2 separate regions of the Homo sapiens genome follow, and region 1 is linked to region 2. The links are contacts of gene promoters, found by promoter capture Hi-C in human tissues and cell types (Jung and others, 2019). All regions are on one chromosome and are shown on one strand. The core of a region is centred on a gene start or on the middle of the fragment in contact, and the rest is flanking DNA. Distances in the headings are between cores, read along the strand shown. Region 1 has its middle 29 kb from the start of PMVK. Region 2 holds the start of ADAM15 (ADAM metallopeptidase domain 15).

Region 1 (3,764 bases), core at 795-3,294, 140 kb before region 2:
TGGGACTACAGGCATGCGCCATCACGCCCGGCTGATTTTTGTATTTTTGGTAGAGACGGGGTTTTGCCTTGTTGGCCAGGCTTGTCTTGAGCTCCTGACTTCAGGTGATCCACCCGCCTCAGCCTCCCAAAGTGCTTAATTTTGGCCTCCCAAAATTAAGCCTCCCAAAGCTACCTCGCCCAGCCTTAATTTCTTAGTGTTTTACATTTATTGCAATGTATATTTTAATGAAAAATATTCAGATTCTATACTTTTTAGAAAAAATGACTTTTATACTTTTATCTAGATCATTACTATCAACAGCACACAAATTAGGTGAAGATCTTCATCAAATTAATATAATTTGTGATTTTCTAAAATAAAGGCAAGAAAAATAAACGTTATGGAAAAATAGAATAATTTATAAGTGACATTTACCTTCATTACTTATGCAATCATCTCTGGCACATTAATAGAACATCTAGACATATACAACAATAATTAAATTCAATCAATTTTGATATGTTGGCAACTTTGAGTTACATATTTTTCAGCTTTGTCATTATAAAGGTATATTTGTCAAAGTAGGAGGTTAGAATATATATACATATATATGAACATATGAATATATATGTGAATATATATATATATATATATATATATATTTTTTTTTTTTTTTTTTTTTTTGAGACAGAGTCTCACTTTGTTGCCCAGACTGGACTGCAGTGTTGCAATCTTGGTTCACTGCAAACCTCTACCTCCCCGGTTCAAGTGATTCTCCTGCCTCAGCCTCCCGAGTAGCTGGGATTACAGGCATGAGCCACCACGCCCAGCTAATTTTTGTACTTTCAGTAAAGATGGGGTTTTACTATGTTGGCCGGGCTGGTCTCGAACTCCTGATCTCAGGTGATCCACCTGCCTCGGCCTCCCAAAGTGCTGGGATTACAGGCGTGAGCCACTGCGCCCAGCCACATTTTATTTATTTAACAGTTTGTTAGTTTTATTTATAACTTTTTTTTTTTGAGACAGGGTCTCACTATGTTCTTCAGGCTGAACTCAAACACCTAGGCTCAAGCAACCCTCCCACCTCAGCCTTCCTAGTAGGTAAGAGTACAGGCGTGAGCCTGGCTTATTTATAATTTTTGAATGTTTAGACATCTAGTATGTAGGCCTCTTGTTCCAGCCCCACAAATGTGAGGGGCAGTTCCATAGGCCACACCTCAGACTCTTACTAAGGATCACGGAAGGAAAGCACAAGGCCGAGGAGAAACAGCTCCAGCTACTAGAGATGGCGCTACTCTCAGGGCCCCAGGCCCACCACCACGATGAGCTCCCAGCCAGCCCACAGAGGAAATAAAGAGGTTCCCCAGTAGCCAGGGACAGCCCACCTTTCCCATTGAAGAGCATTCTTTTCCCAGGATTATGGATCCTTCCGGAGAAACCCCAGCCCTACCAAGAGAGGGTGCTCTTGCTCTATGGCCCCAAGTACAGCAGCCCACAATATTCATTCATCTTTCATTCAATCGGCAGGGATTGGCCAGGTGCTGTGTGAGCTAGACACTGGAGAAGCATGGTGCTTGCCCTCATGCTGCCTACAGTCCAGTGGGAGACAGACAACATGACCACAAACAGGCCACCTGCGGCCCATCCCATTCAGGCGCTACTGCACTGGGTCCAGACAGCTCTGGCTTTAGTCTGTCCTCCAAGACAAAGTATGAGCGCATCACATCCATGGGTCCTACCAGCAGTTCTTGTCACCTCAGCTCTGGACACCCCACAAACCACTGGCCTACAAGAACACTCAATCCCACAAGACAAACAGCAGTCTGCAGCTCAGCGTCCTCTAAATTCCTACAGATTCAAGAAATAGTTTTCCTTCCCCCAACTCCCCAAAAGTGAGGATGGGCCGGGCATGGTGGCTCACGCTTATAATCTCAGCACTTTGGGAGGCCAAAGTGGACAGATCACTTGAGGACAGGAGTTTGAGACCAGCCTGGCCAACATGGGGAAACCCCATCTCTAAAAAACACAAAAAAATTAGCCAGGCTTGGTGGCACATGGTAATCCCAGCTACTCAGGAGGCTGAGGCAGGAGAATCGCTCGAACCCAGGAGGTGGAGATTGCAGTGAGCCAAGATCGTGCCACTGCACTCCAGCCTGGGCAAACTCTGTCCCAAAAAAAAAAAAAAAAAAAAGTAAGAATGGCTCAGAGGCAGAGCTCCGGCTCAGTTACGCACAAGAGATGATGTTGCCAAACAGAATGATGGATCAAAGCTAGTGCACTCAGGTATCCTGGGACTGCATTCTGCCCAAGCACTGGGTAAGTGCTTACTTCATATGTGCGTAATGAAAGGGCTCCTTTGGGCAATTTTTCTGAAACGAAGAGACTCCCTGATCCTAAAGGGAATTGATCTCACCACCTCTAAATATAAAAATTCCTTGCAACTTTTCCATAGCAGTTTTTCCCTTTTCAGTTTACCAAGTCTTCAAAAATCTGAAGGTTGGGTCTCGGCCAGGTACCCTGTTCCAGTGTGAGTGATGGAAGGGAGCCCGTTACGGAAGAAGCACGCTTCAAGAGCCAACATGAAGCCACTCCGAATACAGCGCATAGGACGCCCATGTAAAGACAGGAAAACTCCAGAGTCATCCATATTAAGGTGATCTCACCAAGGAAGGAGGCAAAAGAGAGAACAGAAGGCAGGGCCTGAGGAACACCTGTATTTCTAGGACAAGAAGAGAGGATGTTGGGAAAAGCTGAGTGTTAGGAGAAGCTGAGGCAGGGTTTGCATGTCTGACACAATGTAAAAGAGTCTTGGAACATGTCCGGGGTCCAGGGTCTAAAACCCCTTGTGGCCTTTGGAACACCAAGCTCTGTGCTAAAGGGTGGAAGGCTACCCTGACGCACCATAATCTAAGCCCAGGGCATAAAATCCCTCGTGACTTGGATAGAATCCAGGGCTCATGGCTCTGGAATGTGTCTAGACTTGCTGGCTCCTTGCTCTCCCAGGATCAATTGTATCTTGAGTTAAAAGAACCTACTCTCACTATCTCAAGTAGCAGAAAATGTTCCTTATAAATGCTAAACCATCACAGCTATAGATCATGTGCCTGCCCTTTTGACCTCCACATTCTCACCACCTGTTTCTTTGTTGGATTACTAATAAATACCACAGGGTCCCAGAGCTCAGGGCCTTTGCAGCCTCCACAATCGCGATGGCCCCCTGATCCCACCTTTCTCTCTCAAACTCTTTTTCTCAATCCTTTGAATTTGCCGGATTTTGTCACCCCTACGACCTGGTGTTGGGTCTGATCACCCCAACAAGAGGAGGAGTCAGAAATAGAAAAGGCAGGAGCAGAAAGGCAGGAGAACCAAAAAAGTGAATTCAAGAGAGAGGGAGTGGAGTGGGTGAGTTGGTCGGCTGATGCAGACTGGTCATGAGGGAGAACTAAAGACGCTGTCAGTGGTGGGTGACCTTCAAGAAGCAGTTTCAGTAGAGACAGGAGCAGAGGTCAAATTGCAAAGTGTTCAGGAGTAAAGGGGACAAAATAACTGAGATGATACTGGAGGGGTCAGCAGAAGGAAAGCTGTTTCAGGACAGGCGAGGATGGAGAAATTGGAAAACATGAGAGAGAGGGGCTAGTTAATGTGGCAGGGCCATAGATGGGGGTGGGCACTAGTGAGCAGCTAAGCACGGAAAGACTCACCACCGAGGCAGGAGGAAGGGATGGGAGGAGGAGAATGGGGTTGAGGAGATAAGGCGGGGACACAGGCTAGGGCTCAGCCGC
Region 2 (3,983 bases), core at 955-3,454:
GGGCCTAAGTGTGTATCCCGGCTCCTTCCCTCATTACTATGACAACGGTGTGACCTTGAGCACATGACTTAACTGCTGTGCCTGGGCTTTTGCCTTCCATAAAATGGGGTTAACTACTCCATCTGGTTGTTTTAAGGATTAAATGAGTTGTACTTACATGGTGCTGGCATGCAGCAAGTTCCATATGCATGCATGTTATCATTGGGTGACCCTGGGCAGTGATCACATCTCCAAGCATCAGTTTTCTCACCTGAAAAAAAGGAGATGATAATAACACTATCTGCCTTACATGACAATTGAATTGAATTTTTTTTTTTTTTTGAGACTAAGTCTCACTCTGTCGCCCAGGCTGGAGTGCAGTGGCGTGATCTTGGCTCACTGCAACCTCCACCTCCCCAGTTCAAGCGATTCTCGTGCCTCAGCTTCCCGAGTAGCTGGGATTACAGGCACACACTACCACGCCCGGCTAATTTAGAATTGAAATAATTTATGTACAGTATCTTAGTACAGGACCTGACATTATAAACAATGAGTGGCAGCCATTCTTATTTAATCAGTCCTAACAAAGTTCATAAAAGTGAGACTGTGTTTGCTTAGCTTTTTCCCTAGGGCCTGGATACCCCCAGCCCCCATGACACACAATAGGGGCCAAATGAATGTGTTGTGAAAAAATGAAAAACAAAAAACAAAAAAGAACATGCTGGGATTCCTTGACAGGGTCGTGAAGCAAACTGAATGTGAATGCACAGATGGAAATGTGCCAGACAGTCATTCCAAGCAGAATGTGCAAAGACTCAGTCCACAGGGAATGCGAAGTGCCAGGGCTAGTCTCAGGAGAAACTGGCTCAGAAGAGACAGCTCTCAGGGAGGGCTAAAGTAGGAAAGAGGCTAGAAAGGGACCAGGTGAGGGAAGGCTCTGAAGGCCAAGCCCAAGAGTTCTGCCTGTCTGGCAGGCAGCAGGGCCTCTGGAGTTTCTTGGGCAAAGAGTGGCTGCTTCCTGGGTAAGGTGGCCTGTGGAAAATCCCTGACAACTGTGTAGAGACATGTCGTGAGGGATGGCAGGGAGCATAGTGAACTAGGTTTGTGGTTTGGAATCAGGGCCCCTGGGGTCCAGCCAAGTTGGATTGTTTACTATCTGTGTGACTTTGAGAGTCACTTCACCTTTCTCAACTGTAAAGTGGGGATAGCAACAGTGATAGTCGATCTGGCCTGCTCACTTCTCAGCCTCACTGTGAGAACCAAATAAGATGATTTACAGGAAAGTGCAAATGAGAGTTGTGGCTGATATCCGCTTGGAGAGAGCCTGGAGGGTGCATCCTCCCATTCTCCATCACAGAGTTGGGGAGGGAGGCACCCTCGCCCTCCAGGGGTTTCCTTTGTCCAACCCAGCCTCCTCCAACACGCGGGAATTGTCAGGCCTGGCGACTTCAGACAGGAAACGCTGTCCAGTTCCCCTTCTTTCCCGCCTCGCTCCCGGGCTGGCGCTAACGCCCACCTCCCAACAGCGCCACCCGCTGGCGGATATCCTGCACCGCGGCTGCCCGCTCCTGCGCCGCTGGCTGTGCCGGCGCTGCGTGGTGTGCCAGGCACCCGAGACGCCCGAGTCCTACGTGTGCCGGACGCTGGACTGCGAGGCCGTGTACTGCTGGTCGTGCTGGGACGACATGCGGCAGCGGTGCCCGGTCTGCACGCCCCGCGAAGAGCTCTCTTCCTCCGCCTTTAGTGACAGCAACGACGACACTGCCTACGCGGGGTGAAGAGGCGTCCTGCTCGCTCTTCCGCACCGTCCTTCCCGGTTAATAAAATGCCCTGTACGCTTCACGTGGGTCGGGGACTGGGGTGAGCCGCGCACTGCCTCGCCTGCAGTCGGGAAAGCCTGCCCGCCCGACCTCTCCGAGCCAGGCCGCGCACAGGAGGCAGGGAGGCCGCGAAGCTACTAGGGAGGGGTCCGGACCTGGCGCCGGGTGAAGGCGCGCCGCCCAAGCCGGTCGGACCGGGCACCGGCTCCCACTCCGCACAGTTGCGGGGAAGCGGTAGCGCTGAGCAGCGCGGGCGTAGTGGGCGGTGTCCCCGCTCCCGAGGCACCCGGCGCGCAGCGGGGCGGGCTTTGCCGGGGGCGGAGCTTGGCTTGGGGCCGGGTGGGAGGGGGCGGGCCGGGGCGGGGCCTGGTGGCCGCGCGGCGCTGCTGGGTTCTCCGAGGCGACCTGGCCGCCGGCCGCTCCTCCGCGCGCTGTTCCGCACTTGCTGCCCTCGCCCGGCCCGGAGCGCCGCTGCCATGCGGCTGGCGCTGCTCTGGGCCCTGGGGCTCCTGGGCGCGGGCAGCCCTCTGCCTTCCTGGCCGCTCCCAAATATAGGTGAGTCCTCCGCCTGGAGTGGGTCGGGGGGCGGACTGGGAGGGAGGTGCAGGAAAGTCGGAAGGCATTAGGGTAATGGGGCCGGACGGAGACCCTGGGAGAGCCCAGCCAGAGCGCGGCCCGCCCTGGTCCGCTGTCCTGGGCCTAGGGCCCGGTGACTTGGCGATGGGGTGAAAAGAGAAGGAGGGGGGATGCCGGCGCCCCCTGCCTCCTGCCTGGTCATCCTCTGCGCGGTCCCTGCGGACACTTTCAGGCTCAGGTACCAGGTACCGAGGGGCCTGTCCAGCGCCACTTCAAGATCGTGATGAGAGGGTCGCTGCTCCCCAGGACTGGCATCTTCGCTGCTCTGGGGCCTAGCTAACCGTTCGACCCGGTGCCAGGGCGCTGAGCGGGCATGGCTTGTAGGGTTTAGTGAAGAGGATTCTCTCTAGCCTCTATTCCAGGCCTGGGGCCGCCAGGCACTCCTCACCCTGGTGCTGTTGCCACCAGTGCCTGGCCGAGCGGGAGGGGCCCGAGATGAGCCAGGAGAAGGGAGAATTGGCCAGGAAAGAGGCTGGGACACCAACTCCTCCTTGGAACTTTCACTTCCCGCTGCTGTCTTGGGCCGGGACCGAGAGGGCAGGCGCGGGTGGAGTGTCCGGAGGAGAGAGGGCCATTGTGTGTTGGGGGGGTGGGGGGTGCTCGAGGAGGAAGCAGAGGCTGTAGGCAGCGGGTGTGCCTGACTGGGCATGAGGGTGTTTAGGGAGGTGGGGGTGTTTGCACTGCTCACCCAGAAATGGGCGTTCCTGGCATCTCCGATGTGAGCGAAGGGGAGGGTGAGCGGGCACCCGGCCACAAGGCTTAGCTCAGTCTCGAGAGGGGGCGTTCCTGAAGTGGGGGGAGAGTGATTGGGAGGGAGTGGGAACCGGGGAGGGTCCTGTGAGAACCTGGGATTGGCCGGAAGGGGACAAGGAGGGCCACAGGCTGCGCAAGCCGAAAGTCTTTCTTGGGGACTTGTGAATGGGTTGGTGGGTGGAAAGCCATAAATTAGAGAGACACCCTCTCCTTCCAGTATTCTTCTTTAAGTCTCAGCATGCAATGTGGAAGCCCCTCAGGTACCTAAGGGTCTTGATGGGCTGGGAGCTGGTGGATCTGAGGGCACCTGTCACCCCCAGCCCTGCTGTCGATTCCCTCAGTACTGTCTTGGGGTGTCCTGGGACCTGCAGGTGGCACTGAGGAGCAGCAGGCAGAGTCAGAGAAGGCCCCGAGGGAGCCCTTGGAGCCCCAGGTCCTTCAGGACGATCTCCCAATTAGCCTCAAAAAGGTGCTTCAGGTGAGCTCTCACTCCCCTCTAATAAATAAACGAATCCACACACGCCCCGGTATAGCCAGGTGTCTCAAAGCCAAAGCTTGGCTGAGGAGCTGGTGGGTAGAGCTCACTGTAGTGGGTCTATCCCAGGCCCAGCTGCCTCTCCCACCACACCCCAGCACCTGGCTTCACTTATCTCCCTCTCCCTCTGCACACACGTGTATCTGTCTGCCTCAGCCCCACCCAACCCATCCATCTCCACTGGGGAAATTGTGAAGCCAAACTTGCTTTCTTCATCTCATGTTGTCGGTTTTCTCAGTGGGGGGATTTGGAAAGAGTCA

Evidence for each region. Contacts are between HindIII fragments. The study calls those that stand out against the background at their distance.
Region 1: a fragment that was not itself captured here is called in contact with the fragment with the promoter of ADAM15 in region 2 in 1 of the 25 tissues and cell types used here (spleen).

What each region holds. Positions count from the first base shown.
Region 1 is chr1:154,905,380-154,909,143 of GRCh38, forward strand. No RefSeq gene overlaps it. Among named protein-coding and RNA genes, the nearest start is that of PMVK, 29 kb to the right of the region's middle. The HindIII fragment of the contact is 9,328 bases long and covers 1-3,764 here.
Region 2 is chr1:155,049,112-155,053,094 of GRCh38, forward strand. It overlaps ADAM15 (ADAM metallopeptidase domain 15), which reads left to right and starts at 2,205. Exons shown (of 23, transcript NM_207197.3): 1 at 2,205-2,354; 2 at 3,560-3,666. The coding sequence starts at 2,276. It overlaps DCST1 (DC-STAMP domain containing 1), which reads left to right. Exons shown (of 17, transcript NM_152494.4): 17 at 1,506-1,819. The coding sequence ends at 1,757. It overlaps DCST1-AS1 (DCST1 antisense RNA 1), which reads right to left. Exons shown (of 4, transcript NR_040773.1): 2 at 158-250. ADAM15-EFNA4 (ADAM15-EFNA4 readthrough) reads left to right here and starts at 2,205. Exons shown (of 26, transcript NR_176418.1): 1 at 2,205-2,354; 2 at 3,560-3,666. RefSeq lists an enhancer at 1,380-1,439 and a silencer at 1,910-2,369. The HindIII fragment of the contact is 8,680 bases long and covers 1-3,983 here.